Regions from separate parts of the Homo sapiens genome. Here region 1 is linked to region 2. Evidence: promoter capture Hi-C in human tissues and cell types (Jung and others, 2019). All regions are on one chromosome and are shown on one strand. Each heading gives the region's core, a stretch centred on a gene start or on the middle of the fragment in contact. The rest is flanking DNA. Distances are from core to core; before and after follow the strand shown. Region 1 overlaps SZRD1 (SUZ RNA binding domain containing 1). Region 2 holds the start of HSPB7 (heat shock protein family B (small) member 7).

Region 1 (5,021 bases), core at 94-2,593, 370 kb before region 2:
AATCAGAATTCCCAATTTCACTTGGGAATACAGTCAAAGAATTCACAGGTAGAAGCAATCTACAACAGCAAAATCTGGTCTAAAACTATCAGATAAAAATGTCTCCCGCATCATTAGCCATTTCTTTTTCCCTTTTTTTTTTTTTTTTGGTGGAGACGGGGTCTTGCTATGTTCTCCAGGCTGCTCTTGAACTGTGGGCTCAAGTGATCCTCCCACCTCACTCTCCCAAAGTACTGGGATTATGTGTGAGCCACTGTGCCTGGCCACTGGCCATTTCAAGTTCAGATGTACAATCCATGGACTTCTCCAAACAACCTCCATGTTGATTTAATTCTGTTTCGTCTCTGCCTTGTTTCCATCAGTAGCATAGCAGTGACAGTGTCCTGGCCTGGTATGACTAGGACTGGCCACCTCCAATGCTCCTGTAATTATTCTACTTCCCCTGACTAATCCCAGAGAGGGACACACCCCAAGTCCTATCACCCCAGGTTTGATTTTACAGGGATGCTTCACATATTTTTAAACAATTCACGTATTTTAAAATAATAATCATGTTACAATTATACTATTTTGGACATACTGAGTTAAATTAAAAATATTAAAACTGGCCAGCCGCGGTGGCTCACGCCTGTAATCCCAGCACTTTGAGAGGCCCAGGCGGGCGGATCACGAGGTCAGGAGTTCCAGACCAGCCTGGCCAACATGGTGAAACCCTATCTCTACTAAAAATACAAAAATTAGCCAGGCGTGGTGGCGCATGCCTGTAATCCCAGCTACTCAGGAGGCTGAGGCAGGAGAATCGCTTGAACCCAGGAGGCAGAGGTTGCAGTGAGCTGAGATTGCACCACTGCACTCCAGCCTGGGCAACAGAGCAAGACTCTGTCTAAAAAAAAAAAAAAAGGAAAAAAAGAAAGAAAGAAAAGAAAAAAAAAGAAAAAAATTAAAATTAATTTCATCTGTTTCTTTGTACTTTTAAAATGTTGCTTCTAGAAAATATAAAATTAAGGCTGAGGCAGTGGCTCATGCCTGTAATCCCAACACTTTGGGAGGCTGAAAGAGGAGAATTGCTTGAAACCAGGAGTTCAAGACCAGCCTGGACAAGAAAGTAAGACCTCAACTCTACAAAAAATAAAAAATTAGCTGGGCATGGTGGCACACACCTGTAGTCCCAGCTACTTGGGAGGCTGCTGAAGTGGGAGGATTGCTTAAGTCCAAGAGTTTGAGGCAGCAGTGAGCTATGATTGTGCCATTGCACTCCAGGTGCATGACAGAGTGGGGCCCCACCTCGAAAGAAAAGAAAAAAAAAAGGAAAGAAGCAAGCAAGAAGGAAGGAAGGAAGGAAGGAGAGAAAGAAAGAAAGAAAAGAAAAAGAAAATATAAAATTACCCATGTGTCTTTGGGAGGCCGAGGTGGGTGCATCACCTGAGGTCAGGAGTTCCAGACCAGCCTGAGCAATATGGTGAAACCCTGTCCCTTCTAAAAATACAAAAATTAGCCGGACGTGGTGGCGGGCACCTGTAATTCCAGCTACTCAGGAGGCTGAGGCAGGAGAATCGCTAGAACCCGGGAGGCGGAGGTTGCAGTAAGCTGAGATTGCACCATTGTACTCTAGCAGGGGGGAGAGAGTGAGACTCCGTCTCAAAAAAAAAAAAAATTATCCATGTGGCTCACATTGTACCTTCTGTTGGACAACACTGCTTTAGAGTCTAACCTTAGAAGATGGGTCCCGACTCGGCACAGTGGCTCACGCCTGTAATCCCAGAACTCTGGGAGTGCCGAGGCTGGCGGATCACCTGAGGTCAGGAGTTTAAGACCAGCATAGCCAACATGGTGAAACCCTGTCTCCACCAAAAGTGCAAAAATTAGCCAGGTGTGATGGCGCATGCCTGTAATCCCAGCTGCTCGGGAGACTGAGGCAGGAGAATCGCTTGAACTCGGGAGGGGGAGGTTGCGGTGAGCTGAGATTGTGTCACTGCACTCCAGCCTGGGTGACAGAGTGAGACTCCATTAAAAAAAAACAAAAAAAAAAACCATGTGGCCAGGCGCAGTGGTTCATGCCTGTAATCCCAGCATTTTGGGAGGCCGAAGTGGGCGGATCACCTGAGATCAGGAGTTCCAGACCAGCCTGGCCAACATGGTGAAACCCTATTTCTACTAAAAACATAAAAATCAGCTGGGCACAGTGGCGTGCACCTGTAGTCCCAGCTACTCAGGAGGCTGAGGCAGGAGAATCGCTTGAACCCGGGAGGCGGAGGCTGCAGTGAGCTGAGATCGGGCCACTGCACTCCAGCCTGGGCGACAGACAAGACTCCATCTCAAAAAAGAAAAAAAAAACCCACCCATGCTAGCCCCTGCTCAGCACCCTCTCCTGGTGCTATTTTGAGGTGATATCCATCTTGGCCTACGGGTCTCTACTAAATCTGGCTGTCCACTACCTCTGACCTCATCTCCTACCACTCTCCCCTATCAAGCATGGCCACCACATTGGCCCCACTGTTCAAGACAAAACAATCATGCTCCAGCCTCTGGGCCTTAGCATTTGCTGTTCCCTCTGCCTAGAACGCACTTCAACCAGCTTCTTTCTTTTTGGTTTTGTTTTGCAATGGAGTCTTGCTCTGTCGCCCAGGCTGGAGTGCAGTGGCACGATCTCAGCTCACTGCAACCTCCACCTCCTGGGTTCAAACCTGCCTCAACCTTCTGAGTAGCTGGGATTACAGGCGCCTGCCACCACACCCGGCTAATTTTTGTATTTTTAGTAGAGACAGAGCTTCACCATGTTGCCCAGGCTGGTCTTGAACTCCTGACCTTAGGTGATCCGCCTGCTTCAGCCTCCCAAAGTGCTGAGATTACATGGGTGAGCCACCGCACTCGGCCTTCAACGAGCTTCTAAGCAGCTTGTTGCTGCACTTCTTTTAAATCTCTCTACCTATCTTTAAGAGACCTTCTCTGATCTTTTTTTTTTTTTTTTTGAGATGAAGTCTCGCTGTCGCCCAGGCTGGAGTGCAATGGCACGATCTCAGCTCACTGCAACCTCCACCTCAGGGGTTCAAGCGATTCTCCTGTCTCAGCCTCCCAAGTAGCTGGGATTACAGGCGTGTGCCACCACACCTGGCTAATTTTTTTGTATTTCTACAGAGATGGGGTTTCACCATGCTGGCCAGGCTGTCAAACTCCTGACTTCAAGTGATCCACCCACCTCGGCCTTCCAAAGTGCTGGGATTACAGGTGTGAGCCACCATGCCCAACATTATTTTTTATTTATTTTTTTAAGAAACAAGTTCTTGCTCTGTTGTTCAAACTACAGTGCAATGGTACAATCACAGCTCACTGCAGCCTCACACTCCTGGACTCAAGTGATCCTTCGGCCTCGGCCTCCTGAGCAGCTGGGATTATAGGCATGTGCCACCACACCTGGCTAGTTTTTTTTTTTTTTTTTTTAACGAGCCAGGGTCTTGCTCTGTTGCCCAGGCTGGAGTGCAGTGATGCAATCATAGCTCACTGTAGCCTTGATTTCCTGGACTCAAGCGATCTGCCTCAGCCTCCTGAGCAGCTGGGATTACAAGCACATGCCACTATGCCCAGCTATTTTTTTCTTTAAAAAAAAAAAAAAGATGAGGGGCTGGGTGCAGTGGCTCACATCTGTAATCTCAGCACTTTGGAAGGCCAAGGCAAGTGGATTGCTTGAGCTCAGGAGTTCGAGACCAGCCTGGCCAAAATGGCAAAATCCCATCTCTACAAATACAAAAATTATCAGGTGGCCACGCACGGTGGCTCACGTCTGTAATCCCAGCACTTTGGGAGCCCGAGGCAGGCAGATCACCTGAGGTCAGGAGTTTGAGACCAGCCTGACCAACATGGAGAAACCCCGTCTCTACGGAAAATACAAAATTAGCCAGGCGTGATGGCACATGCCTGTAATTCCAGCTACTCGGGAGGCTGAGGTGGGAGAATCGCTTGAACCCGGGAGGTGGAGGCTGTGGTGAACCGCGATCACGCCACTGCACTCCAGTAGCCTGGGCAGCAAGAGAGAAACTCCATCTCAAAAAAAAAAATAAAAGCCAGGCATGGTGGCACATGCTTGTAATTCCAGCTGCTTGGGAGGCTGAGGCAGGAGGATTGCTTGAACCTGGGAGGATCTCAGCAGTGAGCTGAGATCATGCCACTGCACTCCAGCCTGGGAGACAGGGTGAGACTCCAGCTCAAAAATAAATAAAGAGACGAGCGTCTCTCTATGTTGCTCAGGCTGGTCTCAAACTCCTGCCCTCAAGCGATCCTCCTGCCTCAGCCTCCCAAGTAGATGGGAATACAGCCGCGCACCACCTTGCCTGCCTCTGACCATTTTTTGTAAGATGGCAATTCCACCACAGTCACTTTCTAAAACCCTTAATCTGTTTTACTTTTCTTTACTGAGTGGTATATAAAACACTTACTGTTTATTGTCCATCTTTCCCCAGTAGAAAGTAAGCCTTATGAGAGCAGAAACTTCATTCACTGCATTTGTCCAATGTCTAAAATAGTACCCAACACACGAATTAAAGAACAATCACCAGCCTGGCCAACATGGTGAAGCCCTGTCTCTACTAAAAATACAAAAAATTAGCGGGGTGTGGTGGCTGGCGCCTGTAATCCCACCTACTTGGGAGGCTGAGGCAGGAGAATTGCTTGAACCCGAGAGGCAAAGGTTGCAGTGAGCCAAGACTGCGCCACTGCACTCCAGCCTGGGCAACAGAGCGAGACTTCGTCTCAAAAAAAAAAAAAAAAAACCCCAAATCAACAGGATTTTATAGATATATCTTGATTTTACAAATGAAGAGGAATCAATTCAGATAGGTTATATAATTTGACCATGGTTCCACAGCTAGTATGAAGTGGAGCCAGAATTTGAACTGGATCTATCTGGATCCAGTTGACAAATGACACTATCCATATTCAAAATAAGAGCTCAGGCTGCCTTAGGCATTTCTTGGCAAAAAACAGGTATTACGTCCTCCCTTTACCACCTCTTATCTTCGCTACAACCT
Region 2 (5,200 bases), core at 1,723-4,222:
CCTCGCCATTTTGTAGATGGTCAGAGAGGTGAGTCACTCATCCAAGGTCACACAGCAGAGGCTGAACCCAGCCCCACACTGTGCAGCTCTTCCCCTGCCCAAAGCTCCTCCAGCTCCTGAGGCTGAACCAGGGCAATGGTTTGGGCACAGAACAGAAGAGTTGTGTCTGATGCCACTTTTGGGCAAGAGGTTGGGGACAATTGCCTCCACTCCCACCCAGACAAAGCCACCCTCTGAAGCTTATGATAGCCCTTGGATGATTGTTAAAATCTGGGACCCTGGGCCACCCTTTGCCCCTAGATGCCAGGCAAGTCAAATCAAAATCAAAGATGTGTGTTGTGGGAGGTGGGATGGGAGTTGCCGCTCTGTATGGACTCGAGCCCACCTTCACCTTGGCCACCCCGACCTGTTGACTCTGCACAGCACCAGAACTGGCTGCCCTGTCAACATCCCGATTTCCAGTGTCTGGTCTGGGGCAGCTGCTGGCTACTGTCCCACAGCCAGCACTGCACGTCCACATCTACCCTCACCCCCCAGCCCTGTGTGCACCAGGAGGCTGAGAAGAGGGCAGCCAGGGTGGCTCAGCAGGATGACCGGTTTGAAGCCAGCACAGCTCTGCTGACCCTAACTCTTTCATCAACTAGAGCCTCAGTTTCCTCTTCTGTATGATGAGGTGAGCCTGGAAGCAGGGGCCTGTCTCTGCCTTATTCATCTCTGAGTCCTTCAGAGCCTAGAACAGTGCCCAGCACCTATTTATAGCAAGGTTTCAATGAATACCTACTGAGTGATGAGGGCTTCATCACTGGCCTATGAGCTGGCTGTGTGGGGAGCTGATGGGAAGAGATGTGAGGTCCCTTCCCCAGATCCCAAATCAAAATCCTGGGGTCCAAGGAAAGGGTCTGTGTTTGTGAAAAGCTCTCCTGGGTGACTGGGATTCAAAGGACTGCATCATCTTTGTAGCTCCTTCTGTCTCTGTGATCTGAAGGTAGAGGCAGGGGAATGTCCTTGATGACCTTTTGAGGTCCCTCTGGGTCAGTGAAGCCAGAGGATCCAGTATTTGTGTGGGTGATGCCTCGGGAAGGGGGAAAAAGGGGAGGAGGAATGGTGGGCGGGGGTGGGTAACGGGATCTGACATCCAGGGGCAGTGACTCAGGCCCTCAGCACCATGACAGTGTGTCTGCATTTAGCCACCGGCTCCTGTTTCCCTGGCGAGCGGCAGGCTCTGGGCCCCCCACCCCGCCCCACCCTCTCTCCATCTCACCTCAGTGCTGGTGGCTTCCCAGCTGCCCTAGAAACCCCTCAGCCAGGCTGGGTGTCACAGGCCCCGACACGGGCAGGAAACTCTGCCAGAGGCAACAGGCCCTGTTGCTCCAGGCAACAGCCTGGCCCGCCGCTGTGCCCTGTGCCCTGCTCTGCTTCCACTCCACATACCACCAGCACCGCTAATACCCCTGTAGAAGGAGCTCTCCAGGATGAAGCTCCAGACTGGGTTGTAGGGGGCTCAGACAAAAGAGAAACTGCCCGTCTTCAAGAACCTTCAATCTAATGGGGAGACAGGTGAACCCTCGCCCCCGTGGGAACTGCCAGTTGGATAGGGAAGAAGGGACACAGCAGAGAGTCACAGCACACAGGAAGACTATGTCACACTGCCAGGTGCTGTGGGAGGACAAAGACAGTCAGTGCTGGGGGCATCTGGACTGGGTGTGGGCCCATGTGAGCAGGAGCAGTCAGAGAGGCCTCCCTGGGGGAGGAGGCATTGGAGCTGATCTGGGACGGAAGGGACGGATTTGGAGAGGACAGCAGAGGCCCTTAACTGCAACCTGGGCAGAGCAGAGGGCCTGGCCGCCTCTCAGAATGGCCTCCACCCTGGCCCAGGGCAAGGTCAGTCCCAGCTTTGCTGAGCAAGCAGGTGGGTAGGGAGGGGCTTCTCTGGCTCTTCCGGGCCAGCCTGTCTCCATAGGCACATGTTCAAACCACCTCGGCCTCTGAAGGGCTTTGGGTCCAACACATCTAGGTTCGAATCCCAGCTCTGCCACTTACGCAACTGCGAGCCCCGCCCTTTCCAAGAGGCTTCGCTTCCCCGTCCGTAACATGGGAAGAGCCCCTCCACCCTCCCAGCTGTGTGGGGATCAAACGGGGCCGTGCTGGACAGCTTGCAGCCAGGAGCCCATGCCCAGAAGGCATTCTAGAACTCAGGGCTAGAATAATTGTCTTCCGGAATTCTCTTTTACCTCTGACTGAAATCCCACCTAAGGCGCTCGCAGGCATCACCTCTGACACAGAGATGGAGCAGACAGTTGCCGGGAACACAACCTTCTAGACCTTTAAGGAGAAAGCTGCCAACTTTGTCCTCTTGGGGCTGCTGAATGTTCTGAGAGTCAGAGGGAGTGCAGGCACAGAATCCAGGTCCCCATGGGGGCTGGCAGGGGACAGCTGCACATTTTACACCCCCTGGCAGGGCTCAACCTTTCCTTAGAGATGGGCTGTGAAGGTTGTCTGCCTTGAGGGAAGGAGCTCCTGACGTCACAGAGCGGTGGTGCTTCCACCTACCCTGTCCCCAAGGAGCCTGCACACTGATGGAGGAGGTACAGCCGTGGAGGAGAACCAGAGTCTGGAGGGGAGGCACAGTCCTCAGGAGCCCCCAGGCTGACGGGGGAAACAAAACACACAATAAACCCCAAACTTGCAAGGTTCTGGGGCAGGCACCGAGGTCCGAGTGGCAAGGAGACAGGATCCAGCCCTGTGCAGTGGTGAGGAGGCCCCTGGGGCTGCTGTGATCAGCCTGGAATGTCAGGCTGTGAGCTCAGCCCTCTCGGCCTGCGTGTCGGGCTGTCAGCAGGGCCGGCGCACGGGAGAAGATTTCCAGCCCCCTCTGGGCCATGGAGAGGCCTAAATTTAGCTAGTAGACAAGGGGCTGGCCCCAAGCCCAGGGACAGTCGGCCTTATAAAGCGGCCGCAGTCGGAGCCTGGCACGCTCGCCCAGAGGCCTGCGCCCACACCCTCTCCTGTCCAGCCCTCGCCCGCCTGGGCAGGGCCCGGCGCCGTCCGTGGATGAGCCACAGAACCTCTTCCACCTTCCGAGCGGAGAGAAGTTTCCATTCCTCTTCCTCTTCCTCCTCCTCTTCCACCTCCTCCTCGGCCTCCCGTGCTCTCCCGGCCCAGGACCCGCCCATGGAGAAGGCCCTGAGCATGTTTTCCGATGACTTTGGCAGCTTCATGCGGCCCCACTCGGAGCCCCTGGCCTTCCCAGGCAAGTGATCCGGGCCCTGAGGGGAGGGGAGGTGCACAGGGAGGGGACGTCTGCTCCAGGGCGCCACCGAAGGCGCTGTGGCTGCCGGTCGGCCTGGAACAGGTGCTGCACAGCCTGCAGCCATGTGTGGCCACCAAGACAGATGTGGCCACAGGGACAGATGTGGCCATGAAAACAGGTGGGCCTCTAAGGAACAGTTGTGGCCCTGGGGGTTGGACATGGTTCCATGGCCACCCATGCTCTGTAACCACAGCCAATCCCAGCTGGAGCCCTGGAGGGCTGGATGGGTGAGCGGTGGGGGGCAGCCCCCAGGCTCCAGGCCTGGGGTGGGGTTGTTACAGACCTAGCCTCATATACACACACACTGTGCTGGGTGAGGCCCCACCCCCACCCCAGAAAAGGTGGGCTGTAGGAATGAGGAGGAGCTTAGGGAGAAACAGCTAGGGGGGAGGTAGGGCCTGGGGGAGCCGCCCCTTGCCCCAAGAGAAGGAGCCAGAACCCCCGGATCTGCATGCAAGGCCTGCTCCATGCCTCGCTCACAGCAGCCCATCCCACAGCCCGCCCCGGTGGGGCAGGCAACATCAAGACCCTAGGAGACGCCTATGAGTTTGCGGTGGACGTGAGAGACTTCTCACCTGAAGACATCATTGTCACCACCTCCAACAACCACATCGAGGTGCGGGCTGAGAAGGTGAGCCCCCCACCCCCTACTCACCGCATCCCAAATTCTGCTCCTGCCTCCAATGTCTCCTACTCCCCCTTACCATCCTGGGACCCCAGACCCTGGCCAGTGTCCCTTCCCCACCCAAACTCCCCCAGGGCTAACTGAAGGCCTTGTCCCTGCAACCCATGGCCATGGGGCCCCCTCACTGCCTCTCTTTGCACCGAGGTTCCCAGATCCTTTCTTCCAGGGCCTGAGCAGCTGAGGGAGCCTCCGAGGAATGGGAGAGGGATGGAGGGATGTGGGCAGAGGGAGCCTGAGGGGGTGGGGCTTGAGGGTGGGAGATGACAGGTGTGAGATGGTGATGGCAGAGTGAGGACAGCTCCTCTGGTAGCTATAGGGGGGCGGATGCGGGTAGGTGGGGAACTCACCTGGGCAGTGGGGGGAGGGGTTTCTCCATGTGACCCACCTCAAGCCCTCTTCCCTCCCACAGCTGGAGACCCATCCCCCATCTTGGGACCCCTAAATTAGGCCCGAGGCTGGGCAGGGGCCCTGCAGTTTCGGGTCACACACACTCCAAACCACACACAGCGCCCGCCCACAGGTCTCAGGGTCACTGGGTCTCTAGCGTGTCTGAGTCCGAACTTCTAGGAGGCACTGGGGCCTCCACCCTGGAGAGGGTATGGCCAGGCCTGAACAGGGGCGTTGCCCAGGGACAGCCACGGCTGCCAGGAGAGAGGAGAGGACCTGACCCAAGCCTCCTCCTAAGCCCCCAAGGACTGGCTTCTTCCCCTCCACATTCAAGGGTGGATTTCTGGGCGTCCCTGCCAGGGATGCCATGGACTGGGGGCACCAAAACCCACAGGCAGCATGTGCCAGCCCTGCCACCCCCAACAGTGACTCAGCCGCCCCAAACTCCCCTGGACACTATGTGCTGGCTGAGTTGCGGGGGAGGGGCCGGCGCTCAGCCCTGGCGGGCAGATGCCCAATGTGCCCGGGGATCCAGGAAGGCACGGCTCTCCTCTGTCACCTCCACGTTCCCCAGGAGCCCCAGATTCGGAGCCACTGCCACGGAGCCTCCTCTCTCTCCAAGCCCCACCTCTTCCCCATGTCCCTGGCCTGTTCCTTGGAGCTACTGGAGCTCTGCGAAGCACCCCTGCGCTGTCCCTGCAGAGCCTTTGGCCTGTGGCCATCACCACCCTGGGCAGCCCCTCGGCACCTGAGGGCAGAGCCCCTCGGCATGTGGGGTCTGGCTGGGGTTAGAATGGGGAGAAGAGGGCTCTGGCTTG

What was found. Contacts are between HindIII fragments. The study calls those that stand out against the background at their distance.
Region 1: a contact is called between a fragment that was not itself captured here and the fragment with the promoter of HSPB7 in region 2, in 1 of the 25 tissues and cell types used here (IMR-90 fibroblasts).

The regions. Positions count from the first base shown.
Region 1 is chr1:16,379,503-16,384,523 of GRCh38, reverse strand. The region is part of intron 1 of SZRD1 (SUZ RNA binding domain containing 1); the gene reads right to left. Among named protein-coding and RNA genes, the nearest start is that of SZRD1, 15 kb to the right of the region's middle. RefSeq lists enhancers at 3,501-4,000, 4,001-4,502. The HindIII fragment of the contact is 7,164 bases long and covers 1-4,925 here.
Region 2 is chr1:16,015,815-16,021,014 of GRCh38, reverse strand. HSPB7 (heat shock protein family B (small) member 7) reads left to right here and starts at 2,972. Exons shown (of 3, transcript NM_014424.5): 1 at 2,972-3,250; 2 at 3,808-3,941. The coding sequence starts at 3,052. RefSeq lists enhancers at 2,679-3,423, 3,424-4,170. The HindIII fragment of the contact is 13,638 bases long and covers 1-5,200 here.